3 separate regions of the Homo sapiens genome follow, and all the other regions are linked to region 2. Evidence: promoter capture Hi-C in 16 types of primary human blood cells and fetal thymus (Javierre and others, 2016). All regions are on one chromosome and are shown on one strand. Each heading gives the region's core, a stretch centred on a gene start or on the middle of the fragment in contact. The rest is flanking DNA. Distances are from core to core; before and after follow the strand shown. Region 1 overlaps TP53TG5 (TP53 target 5). Region 2 holds the start of OSER1 (oxidative stress responsive serine rich 1). Region 3 holds the start of PCIF1 (phosphorylated CTD interacting factor 1).

Region 1 (3,588 bases), core at 366-2,865, 1.2 Mb after region 2:
AGCTCTGTGCCCCTCGATGGCTCCACTGCTCTCCCGAGGGCGCCCACTCCATGCAGCCTGCCTCTGGGGAATATGGAGGTCTTCGTCCGGAGAAAACTCGGGCTCCCTTGGCTTTCCTCTCCCCAACGGCATGGTTAGGACCCTGTGACTCCTACCGACAGAGGGTGACCCCGGCCAGATGGGGTCGACCAGGGCTTGGGGTTGAGGTCTTCAGATTGAGGGTGGACCTGCCATGTCACCCTGGAGCAGTAGAGATGCAGTACCAGCTCCCCCTCCTGATCCGGTGCCTTCTGTGATCTGTGACCAAGGCAGGACACATTTGGAGGCCCAGCTGACATCCACTTTTTGACACCAGCCACAGTGCAATCAGTTTTTGACAATCAATTTTTGACAATCAGGTCGCAATGCACGCGCATGACCTACAGGGTGCTGGGGCTATTCCGCCTGCCTCGTGACTTCTGAGCAGGCTCTCATTTCGCCTTTTCCCTTTCTTGGGAAAATGGAATGGGGAGCAACCAGGAGCCCTTGCTCCTGCCACTTTCTAGCTGAGTGAGCCTGGGCAAGTTACTTGCTGCCTCCGCGCCGCGGTTTCCTCTTGCGAGCTCGCGGGGCGATTGTGAGGCACTTTGCACCCAGGAAGCACACGAGCGCCCTGACTTCACAGAGCGCGCCACTCAGGAGACTAGCTCGCGGAGGTGGGGGAGGGGTGCTGCTCGCTGGCTTCTTTGGTTCTAGACTGACCTTAGGGGCCTCGGGGTGGGGGTGGGGGAAGCCTGAAGTCGCGACACAGGCTCCCTCTACCGAAGGCCTCTTTCCTTCATCCTTCCCAGCCCCAGACAAACAGGCAGAGTAAGCAGTATTCGTCTTAGGTGCCATATGGAAGATCTTATTTGTAGACTCGTGAATTTCGCCACCCATTCCTCCCCTTCAGCTGATGGCGCGATCTCCACCCTCTGCTCGCACCTCTGGCTCTCGTCCAGGTCACATCAACCTGCCAGCAGAAACCTCGGTGTTAGGCGCTAAGACTGTCCCCAGGGGGCGCTGGTCGTTTGGGGAGCGGGCGCAGGGACAAGGGTGCTGTGGTGTCTGGTAGGTTGGAAATGCCTTTGCTAAAAAGGAAAAGCCTCCCTTTAAGCTAGACCCGGTGGGCACTCACCCCCTTCCTTTCGTGGGACTTTCATTCTCCCACGAAAGGGCTGCGGTATTTTCTTCTTTTTTTGCTAAGGAACTTTCTGCTCAGAGTAAATCTTTTTTTCCTTTCTTTTTTTTTAAGACAGGGTCTTGCTCTCTTGCCCAGGCTGGAGTGCAGTGGCGAAGTCACAGCTCACTGCAGCCTCGACTCCTGGGCTTAAGCGATCCTCCGACCTCAGCCTCCTGAGTAGCTGATACTACAAGCGCAAGGCACCACATCTGGCTAATTTTTAAATTTTTTGTAGAGACAGTGTCTCATTATGTTGCCCAGGATGGTCTTGAACTCCTGGCCTCAAGCAGTCTTCCTGCCTCGACCTCCCAAGGTGCTGGGATTACAGGCGTGAGCCACCATGCCTAGCCTGTTCAGAGTAAATCTTATTTGAGGCATGAATCAATCAAACATAAATAGAGAGTTGAATTGATCTTAGAGGGAATGGGATGCAGCAAAGCCCTACTTGACCATCTCCCCCCTCCCACATTTGGAAATCCTTAAACCCACTTATGTAGGCCTCTGACTGTGAGATTCAGAGCCACAGCAGTTTCCACCTCTGCTAAGGCCTTCAGGCAGTGAGATGGCTCACTTCAGTGCCCCTCCTTCCACACATCTCCTAGCTGTATCCTGAGACGCCTCAACCTAGTCACTACCCTTCTGTATGATGTTGGTCTAAGGCTTCCCCCTCTCTGGACATGAAGGCGGAGCCTCCCAGCACTACCAGCCACACACCACTCAAGACTCCAGATCCTGAACCCTGACTCTGGGGCCCAGCTCTGGGCCTGGCTTGGGGCTTGCATCTCACCTAGCCTGGCAGTGTTGTTGTCACACCCACCTTGTATGGATGCCACATAGGCATTTCAAGTGATGCGGAGCAGAAGCGGGTGCAGCGGCGCTTGACCCAACGCAGGGTGGAGGATCTGCACATCACCCTGGGCGCCGGGAGGTGGATTCGTGTGGGCAGCCCCTCAAACCAGATCCACTGGTCGGCTACATCCAGCTGCTTCATGTGCCCCATGGGAGTTCTATTGCGGTAGGGCTTAATGAAGATGACTCGGGGGCCCTCGGTGAGTGGTTGCCTCCCCTGGACTCCAGGGTTCAAGCTATCATCCCTCGATGTCCTTGGAACCTCAGGCTCTATATGCTTTTCTTTCCGTGGCATTGCCGCCAATGACGTTTTCTCCTTGTTCCTCATCCCTGACTGCACCTGGGACTTCCACTCCTTGTACTCTTTTTTCTTAGGGTCCCCTGTGGACTCTAATTTCTTGGACTTGAGTTCCTTCTCGGAGCACCCGATCTCCTGGAACTCTTCATTATTTTGTTTTGTTTTATTGCAGGCACTGTTTTCCCTGGCAGGGAGAGGAAAGGCAGTCAGCACAGCAGGACCGAGGCCCTGGTTCCCGAGACAGTTGCTATGTAGCCAGCTCAGGGGAGCCTGTTAAGAAAGGCTAGAGGGGCCTGCAAAGAAACTTCTCTACTGCCCAGAGGCCTTGTGCTGGTGTGAGGAGGTGTGATGAGCACTAGCAGAGGGATGTGAGAGATTGGGAAGGTGAAAGCCATGACTAGTAGTTAAGGCCCCTAAGAATGAATATTGTCTACATCATCTGCCACTAGATTAGGGTTCTGTCTCTCTGGACTTCAGCTGGGAGGGTGAACAGTCCAGTAGTTTTTCTAAATTGTGCTCCAAGAACCTTAGGGTTCTGAGGAGGTGTCTCAATGTCACCTCCCCTGACCCACTGGGGCAGGATACCTCTCCCCAGCTCATAACAACACAATTGGGGCTTGGAAATAGATATTTGAACAGAGGTTTCACTGCTTTAATAAAGTTGGAAAACTGTTCAAGACCAGCCTGGGCAACATGGTGAGACTCTGTCTCCATACAAAAAAAAAATTTTTAAGTTGGAAAATGATGGGGCTAGATGATCCTGATCCTTCTAGCTCTATGTTTCCTGATTGCCTGCGACTAGAGGCCAAATCAGAAAGAGGAGCCCAGAAAGGTGGCCTTGACAGAAATATTAAATGCTGAGACTTTCCCAAAGGGTGTCTGTAACAGACTGGGCCCCCTGCAAACCCCCAGTGGCAACACCATCCTAGCCAAGGGCGTGGAGAGAGATGAGGCCTTGGGCTGCAGATAATGGCAATACTGTGATGATAATAATGGCTCCCGCTGATTGAGTCCTCGCTCTATGCCAGACTCGGGACCCTTACAACTTGGGATCCTTACTATTTCTGTGAAGTAGAAGGCAGTGAAACAGAGTGGCTTACAGAGCACAGGTGTTGGATTCAGACAAACGGGCTCAGATTCTGCTTCTGCCTCTTACCACCTGTGTGATTTGGGCAAGATATTTAACCTCTCAGAGCCTTAGCTTCCTTATCTGTAAAACTAGGATAATTCTGTCTACCTA
Region 2 (3,157 bases), core at 207-2,706:
TACTCACTTTTTTTCTCAGTTATTTTAGCCAAGAGCAAATGAGCGTTAGGCATAACCTTAAGAGCTAGAGAAGAGCATGTTTGTAATTATAAAAGGCTCATTATGCTCCTCTGCATCCCCAGATCCCCATTCAAAGAAAGGGCTGTACAACTAACTCCGGACAACAGATATAATTGGCTTGCCTTTCTTCATTAATATTAAATTTGTGGGAGACAGTCTTGGCGTTTTCACTGCAGTGAACTCGTGAAGTTGAACAATCTCCAAAGAGATGAAACTTTAAAAAGCCTATTCGAAGTTAAAGTCAAATCACACCAGGCAATTTAACTTTGCCTCGGATTTTCCACAACCTTACAAAAATTACAAAGTTCTTCTAAGTTCCTCCATCAAAAGGCCAAATTCCTGGTTTTTTCTTTCAACAAAATGGATGCGTCACAATCTTATTTACATCTTGCCGTTTTAACCAAGACCTCCTTGAATCCCAAGCCTAGGTCTACACTTCCAGGCCCCTGAGAAGACCTAAGAACGATCAAGAAGGGATGCGCGGGTAAGCGTTGTCATCACAACATTAAAGATTTCGAAACTCCCAGACCACCAGAAAGCGTAGAGTATGGGGAAGAAAACCAAACCCAGCAACTCTAAGAGGCAAACTAGACCGGGAGGAAACAATCGGCCCCCAGGACAAAAAGCACATTCACACCTCTCCGTGCAACCCACTCATCCCTTTATACTCGCAGCGCTGCAGCCAAAGCACAAAGTTCTTTCTTTTCACCCAGAGTCTGTGCCTGTCGCGGTTAAACATGAACGGAGGAAAATTCCTAGTCAGAACCCAGAGGGGTAGGACGGGGCTTGGAGTGTGGGGACAACGCCAAGCAGGGAGCTGTCCAGGGGCACTGCCCGCCCGGGGTCTCCAGCTGTGAAGTTGCGCTCCTCGGGAGATTCCTGGGGTCAGAACGAGAGGCTGGAGTCGGAGCGAGGCACAAGGGATGCGGGAGAAGAAAGGAGTGGGGCCGAAGAGGTAGCCAAAGAGAATGGGGCTCCGAGGCGAGAGAGAAAGGACTGGAAGGGGCAAAGGGCGGCCAAGGAGGGCGAAAAGGGGAAGCTGCCGCTGGGCGGGAGACGGCGGAGGAGCGAGACGGGGCGGGGGACCGCGGGAGGACGGGAAGGCGGGAAGGGGAGAGAGCGTGGAGCTCGGAGCTCCAGCAGGCACAGGCCGCGGCAGATAAGGGGGCGCGGAGAGGCCCAGGCCCGGCCCAGGCAGGAGGCGTCGGGAGACGACGCGACCCAAGGCGGGCGGGCCCGGGGAAAACCGCCCGCGGCCAGACCGGCAGTGGAAGCTGAGACGCAGTGCTGCGGCCCCTCCCCGTCACGTCAGGGCACTTACCTCCTCGCAGCTGGGACGCTCCGGTGATGCGGGGCAGTCAGTTCAGAGCGTCTCTCCCAAATCTCGGCACCCGACTGACCCGGATCCAAACCAGCCAAGGGGGCGGCCCGCGCCTCGGGAGTCGCGTTGCGCCTGCGCACTCCGGCATGCACCCCTCCCCCTGCTTATGCTCCTCCCACCCCAGTGACTCGGCAGCGCGGCAGCCGACGACTGCGCAGACGCAGGGCGGCGGCCGCGCCTCTCCAACGCCCCGCACCCGCCCCCCTCAGAAGCACGTGCGCCTTACGTAATTTCCTGTTATTCTTCGGTTTGCCTCCTCCCAGTGGCGTGGATTTGCTCCCGACCCGCTTTTGGGGCGTGCCTGCTTCCTCCTCTCTGTTAGGTGAGTGAGTAGGCGTCATTCTTCACAGTAGTCCTCTGCCTCCACCGCCCCGGGATCTCCTTGCGCTCGGTCCTCTACGTGGAGTCACCTATGCAGAGGAATTCCACGGGGCGGGGGCGAGGACAGGGTGCGGGGGTCTTTATGGCAGACAATCCCCGGCTGAGCGCTTGGCCAGAGTTTCTGTGATGCTAGAATCTGGACTGCCTGCGACCTCTCCGGGACTCGGACACCAGCCCTCGCCTCCTGGTGATCTTTTAGGTCCTGCAGAGAAGTGAAGAGGTATTGGACGTGGCCAGGGTCAATAGTGTGAAGCCAGAATTAGAATTGAATTGAAATGCCTTCGGTTTTGATATCTCTGCTGTTTGTCTTGAGGCAACTGCTTTTCCTCCTTTGGGCCTCTCAGTTTTCCATCTAGTAAGTGAGGAAGTTGAACCTTATCGGTGAATCTCGTGTTTTCAGGCGTAGACTCCTTTGAGAATCTGGTGAGAACTGTAGATCCTCTTGCCAAAGAAATGCACCTACACACCAAATTTTGCAAAAAGATTTAGGCAGTTCACCAAAGGAGATGAATTTTAGGATTCTTTACATTTTTCTGATTCTGAATGTTGCTCAGATGGTAGGCGGGAAAAGGTGATCTGTGCAACAGCTGCCACCCGCTCCATCACCAGGACTGGTTCTGCTGATCTAGCTGTGCCTCTCCTCGCCTGCCAATCTCCAGCTCCACGTCTGCACTGCTCAAAGCTTCGTGAGAACAGATGATTTTGCGCAATTGAGTTGGATGGCGTTGATTGTGGCCCACCCCTAGAGTGAGGGTTTTTCCCTGAACCAAAACTGGCCCCATCCACCGTCATTCCCCAATACCTTAGTTGTAGTCAACTAGATAGGCTGCCGAAGATGGTTTAACTGTGTCCAGCTTAACTACAGCCAGGCTTTGGAATGCCTGGCCTATGTCTGTAAATGAAATCTAACAATTTATTGTATAACGTTGTTAAACATGAAGCATGATGTTGGCCCTGGATAAAACATTTTAAATTCTCGTCGTTCATACCAGAGGCTCAGTAACTGACCGGTTGAAAGAAAACTGTTCATTGTAACCTAATGATGCTAGTTAGATAGCATTAGATTATGTTAGAGATCAGATAACTTGTTCTAGCTGCCTTTGTCCTGTCTCACAGTGCTAGTAAGTCAGGATTTAAACTGCCCTTCTCAACATCTCTTGGACAAGAAAAAGCGGGAAATATGATGTATTTATTTTCTCAGACCTTGCCAAGTGAAATGTATCAAAACCAAACATGTCTTTTTAAGCTGCCACTTCAAAATATAACTTAAGATAAAATCTCATATATCCTTGAGAAGGCCTGGCACGGTAGCTCATGCCTATAATCCCAGCACTT
Region 3 (3,275 bases), core at 776-3,275, 1.7 Mb after region 2:
AGAATTGCTTGAACCCGGGAGGCAGAGGTTGTAGTGAGCCGAGATCGCGCCACTGCAATCCAGCCCGGGCGACAGTGCGAGATTTCGTCTCAAAAAAAAAAAAGGGTAATAATCACTACATGGTTTTTAAACTTTAGTGAAAGCGCGGGCTAGCTGGGGGGCATGAGCATGGAAAACTGGTTATCCCGTAGGTCAAGAGCGACCACGTAGTTTACTGCCCAAAGCAGTACTTTTTTTTGAGACAGGAGTCTCACTCTGTCGCCCAGGCTGGAGTGCAGTGGCGCGATCTCGACTCACTGCAACCTCTGCCTCCCGGGATCATGTGATTCTCCTGCCTCAGCCTCCCGAGTAGCTGGGATTACAGGCGCGCGCCACCAGGCCTGGCTCATGTTTGTAATTTTAGTAGAGACGGGGTTTCGCCGTGTTGGCCAGGCTGGTCTTGAATTCCTGACCTCAGGTGGTCCACCTGCGTCGGCCTCCCAAAGTGCTGGGATTACCGGGGTGAGCCACCACGCCCGGCCCAAAGCAGGGCACTTCTGAAAAAGGAGGCAATATTAGTAATTATGCCAGGGCAGCAGGCATAAATCAAAGCTGGCCCCCCACCCTTCCAGAACTGAGACAGGACCCAGGAGTCTGGTTTCCCATCAGGCCTCTTATCTGAACGAGAAGCTCTGCGAGGGCAGAACTGCTGTGCCTATATAGAGCTGGCTTATTTCTGGAGGGCTCAAATCTACTTGGAGCAATGCTCATGCCACTGTGAGATGATCACGGCTAACCGATTCAGCACTTAGGAAGCGCCAGGTATTGCGCTGAGGACTTCACATGCATCACCTGAGTTAATTCTCACCAAACCTTTATGAGGTAGGCGGATTTATTATCTTCCACTGAGGAAACTAAAATTTAAATTGGTTAACTCCTTCAAGGCCACACATTTTGGGTGGAGGAGCAGGGATTGAAATCAGATGAGGATCATGAACCCTCGTTCTCAATTACTACTCATATCGGTGCCTCCGTTTTTCTTGAGCGTCCGCCTGCCTGCCCCCACGCTGGCGTGCAGCCAGGACCATGGACATCTGAGAGGCTACTCAGCCGGGGTACCTACAGCCCCTGGCTCCACACAAGCGCCGGTCTGACAGCAGGTGGCAAGCTTTTCCTCTTCTCAAGCTAGCACTGGAAGGGATGCTTGCTGGGGAGACCGGAGATGGGTGGAGCTACCACTCGGACGCCTGCAGGCTCCTACCAAAAAGAATCCTGCAGGGAGCCGGATGAGGAGCACCTCACAGCTGCCAGTTCCCTGCCAGGCTACCCGCTGTAGCTGGTTTGAGGGCTCAGTGAGGCTTTGAACTGCAACTAATGGCCACAGATGTCAATGTTGGAAAGGCCCTACAATGCATTTAGTTGATTTCCCAACTCTGCCGAAAGCCATCTCTATTACTTGCCCCCGAAGGCTAGTTTAAGTTGCTTCTACTCAAGAGCATTTACAGCTTGGGTTCGATGTATATGTAGCCCGGGCATGGGGCAGGGCTTCTTAACATTTGGACACCACGCAGCACAAAGGCCCAGAGAGGGAAAGAGACTGGCTGGAAGAGGCAGAGCCGCGCGGGTGCCAGGACCCAGGTCCTTGCTACGTCCGGAGCCTACGTCACCACGATGCCTCCCCTGGGCCGGCGGCAGAACCCGAGACCCCCGCAGGTTCTAAGACAGCCCCCACGCCCCCCAGTGCGCACGCTCAGTCCAACCCCGCCGCGCACCGCCCACCGCGAACATCCGGCTCCTGCGTGTGTGCTCGAGGGGGAAACTGAGGCGGGGACGTGCCAGTGAATTCATTCCTTCCTCAGTCCACCCGCAGGCCTACAAAGCTGTCTCCCCTTCCTCAGCGCCACAAGGAACAGCAGGGACGGATGGGAAGAAGGGGAGGGGGCCGAAAGCAAGCTGGGTGCGAGGAGCCAGCCGACCCTGCCACACTCAAGATGGCGGCGCGGCCGCGGCGAGGTCCCTCAGAGGCGGTACCAGCGCATGCGCAGCGCGGAGTCCCGGCCCGGGACACAAGATGGCGGCAGCGGCGCTGGGGAGGGCGAGGCGGAGGCGGCAAAACGGGCGGTCGAGCAGAACGTGTAGCCGCGTCCCCTCCAGTCCGCTCCGGGCAGGTAAGAGTCCCAGGAAGCCATGGTCCCGCAGCGAGCCGCGCCAGGGTCTGGGGATCCGAAGCTGGGGGGCGGCGGCCCCTCCGGCGCTTTCTGCTCGGGACTGCCGCTTGCCCTGTCTCTGTTGCCGCCGCCATCTTAGACCCGCGGGTGGGCGGCCGCGCCGGTGGCCGAAGTGAGGGAGGTGGGCCCGGAGAGCCCCAGCGGAGCGGGCTCTAGGGCCCCTCCGCTGCTGCCGCCGCCACCGCCTTTGTGTCGGGCTCCGACTCTGAGTCGCCTCAGCCCGGGGGCGGGAGCGCGCGGCGGGGCGGGGGGCGGAGCCCGAGAGATGGGCCGGCGCGCGCGCGCGCGCCAAACAGCCCACCCTCGCTGGGGTAGGGGGAGGGGAAGGTGCGCGCGCGCGCGCGCGCTGGAGCTCGCCTCTCGCCTTCGTGCGCCGTCGCGCCTGCGTACTTTGTTCGCCCTTTGACTCCTCCCTACTGGGCCGGAGAATTCTGATTGGTACATTGCGGAGATGGTCCCGCCCCACGTGCCTCCAATCCCGGACTCGGACTCTGGCTTCTGGTGGGTTTTTCTGGTTGCGCAGATAGAGTTGTTTATCCTTGAGCAGCGGTAATTCTCAAACTGCGGTATGCGTGGGGGTCGGGAAGCCACAGGATAAATAAAGACGTTAACTTAAGAGCAGTTATGTCTTACTGGGAGCGTACAATGCTGGACTCTACATATAACGGTCGAGTGATTCCGGTTTATAAGCCGGAAAGCAGAAGGGCCCGGAATCCGGGTCTGTCCAACCCAGGGGCTGGTACTTCGGCCACAGACCTGCTGCGCTCAAGTCACATAGGAAATTAAAAATGGTTTTAATTGCAAAAAATGGGTACATTTTTTCAAATAGTGTGAAAAAATGAGTCATCCTGTCTCCCAGTCACTCTTACGGTGCGTTTTAAAAATACAAATTCTTGTGTGCCTCACCTCCGTATTTATTTCTGGCTTCTGAGATGCGCAGTGAGGCACAGGAGTCTGATTTTTTTTTTTTTTTTACAAACTCCAAGATGATTCTGATGCACAGCTGGCTTTGGAAATACTGCAGTGTCCCCATTTAGCCTCACACTAAGCTGTGCCGCTTGTGCGTAT

Evidence for each region. Contacts are between HindIII fragments. The CHiCAGO score rates a contact against its expected background, and 5 or more counts as called.
Region 1: a fragment that was not itself captured here is called in contact with the fragment with the promoter of OSER1 in region 2 in 1 of 17 cell types (total B cells); the score reaches 5.2 in total B cells.
Region 3: the fragment with the promoter of PCIF1 here is called in contact with the fragment with the promoter of OSER1 in region 2 in 1 of 17 cell types (fetal thymus); the score reaches 6.0 in fetal thymus.

Annotation. Positions count from the first base shown.
Region 1 is chr20:45,373,021-45,376,608 of GRCh38, forward strand. It overlaps TP53TG5 (TP53 target 5), which reads right to left. Exons shown (of 5, transcript NM_014477.3): 4 at 2,019-2,532; 5 at 1-991. The coding sequence ends at 887. The region is part of intron 3 of SYS1-DBNDD2 (SYS1-DBNDD2 readthrough (NMD candidate)); the gene reads left to right. It also overlaps a transcript of SYS1 not described here. Among named protein-coding and RNA genes, the nearest start is that of TP53TG5, 3.5 kb to the right of the region's middle. RefSeq lists an enhancer at 323-382. The HindIII fragment of the contact is 5,473 bases long and covers 1-3,588 here.
Region 2 is chr20:44,209,315-44,212,471 of GRCh38, forward strand. It overlaps OSER1 (oxidative stress responsive serine rich 1), which reads right to left and starts at 1,457. Exons shown (of 4, transcript NM_016470.8): 1 at 1,382-1,457. It overlaps OSER1-DT (OSER1 divergent transcript), which reads left to right and starts at 1,646. Exons shown (of 3, transcript NR_038339.2): 1 at 1,646-1,763. RefSeq lists an enhancer at 867-1,486 and silencers at 1,146-1,215, 1,411-1,859. The HindIII fragment of the contact is 3,146 bases long and covers 1-2,502 here.
Region 3 is chr20:45,932,658-45,935,932 of GRCh38, forward strand. PCIF1 (phosphorylated CTD interacting factor 1) reads left to right here and starts at 2,026. Exons shown (of 17, transcript NM_022104.4): 1 at 2,026-2,147. LOC107985388 (pre-mRNA-splicing factor cwc22-like) reads right to left here and starts at 2,414. Exons shown (of 1, transcript NR_171669.1): 1 at 837-2,414. RefSeq lists enhancers at 1-644, 927-1,076, 1,336-2,027, 2,028-2,718 and a silencer at 2,347-2,556. The HindIII fragment of the contact is 3,152 bases long and covers 1,146-3,275 here.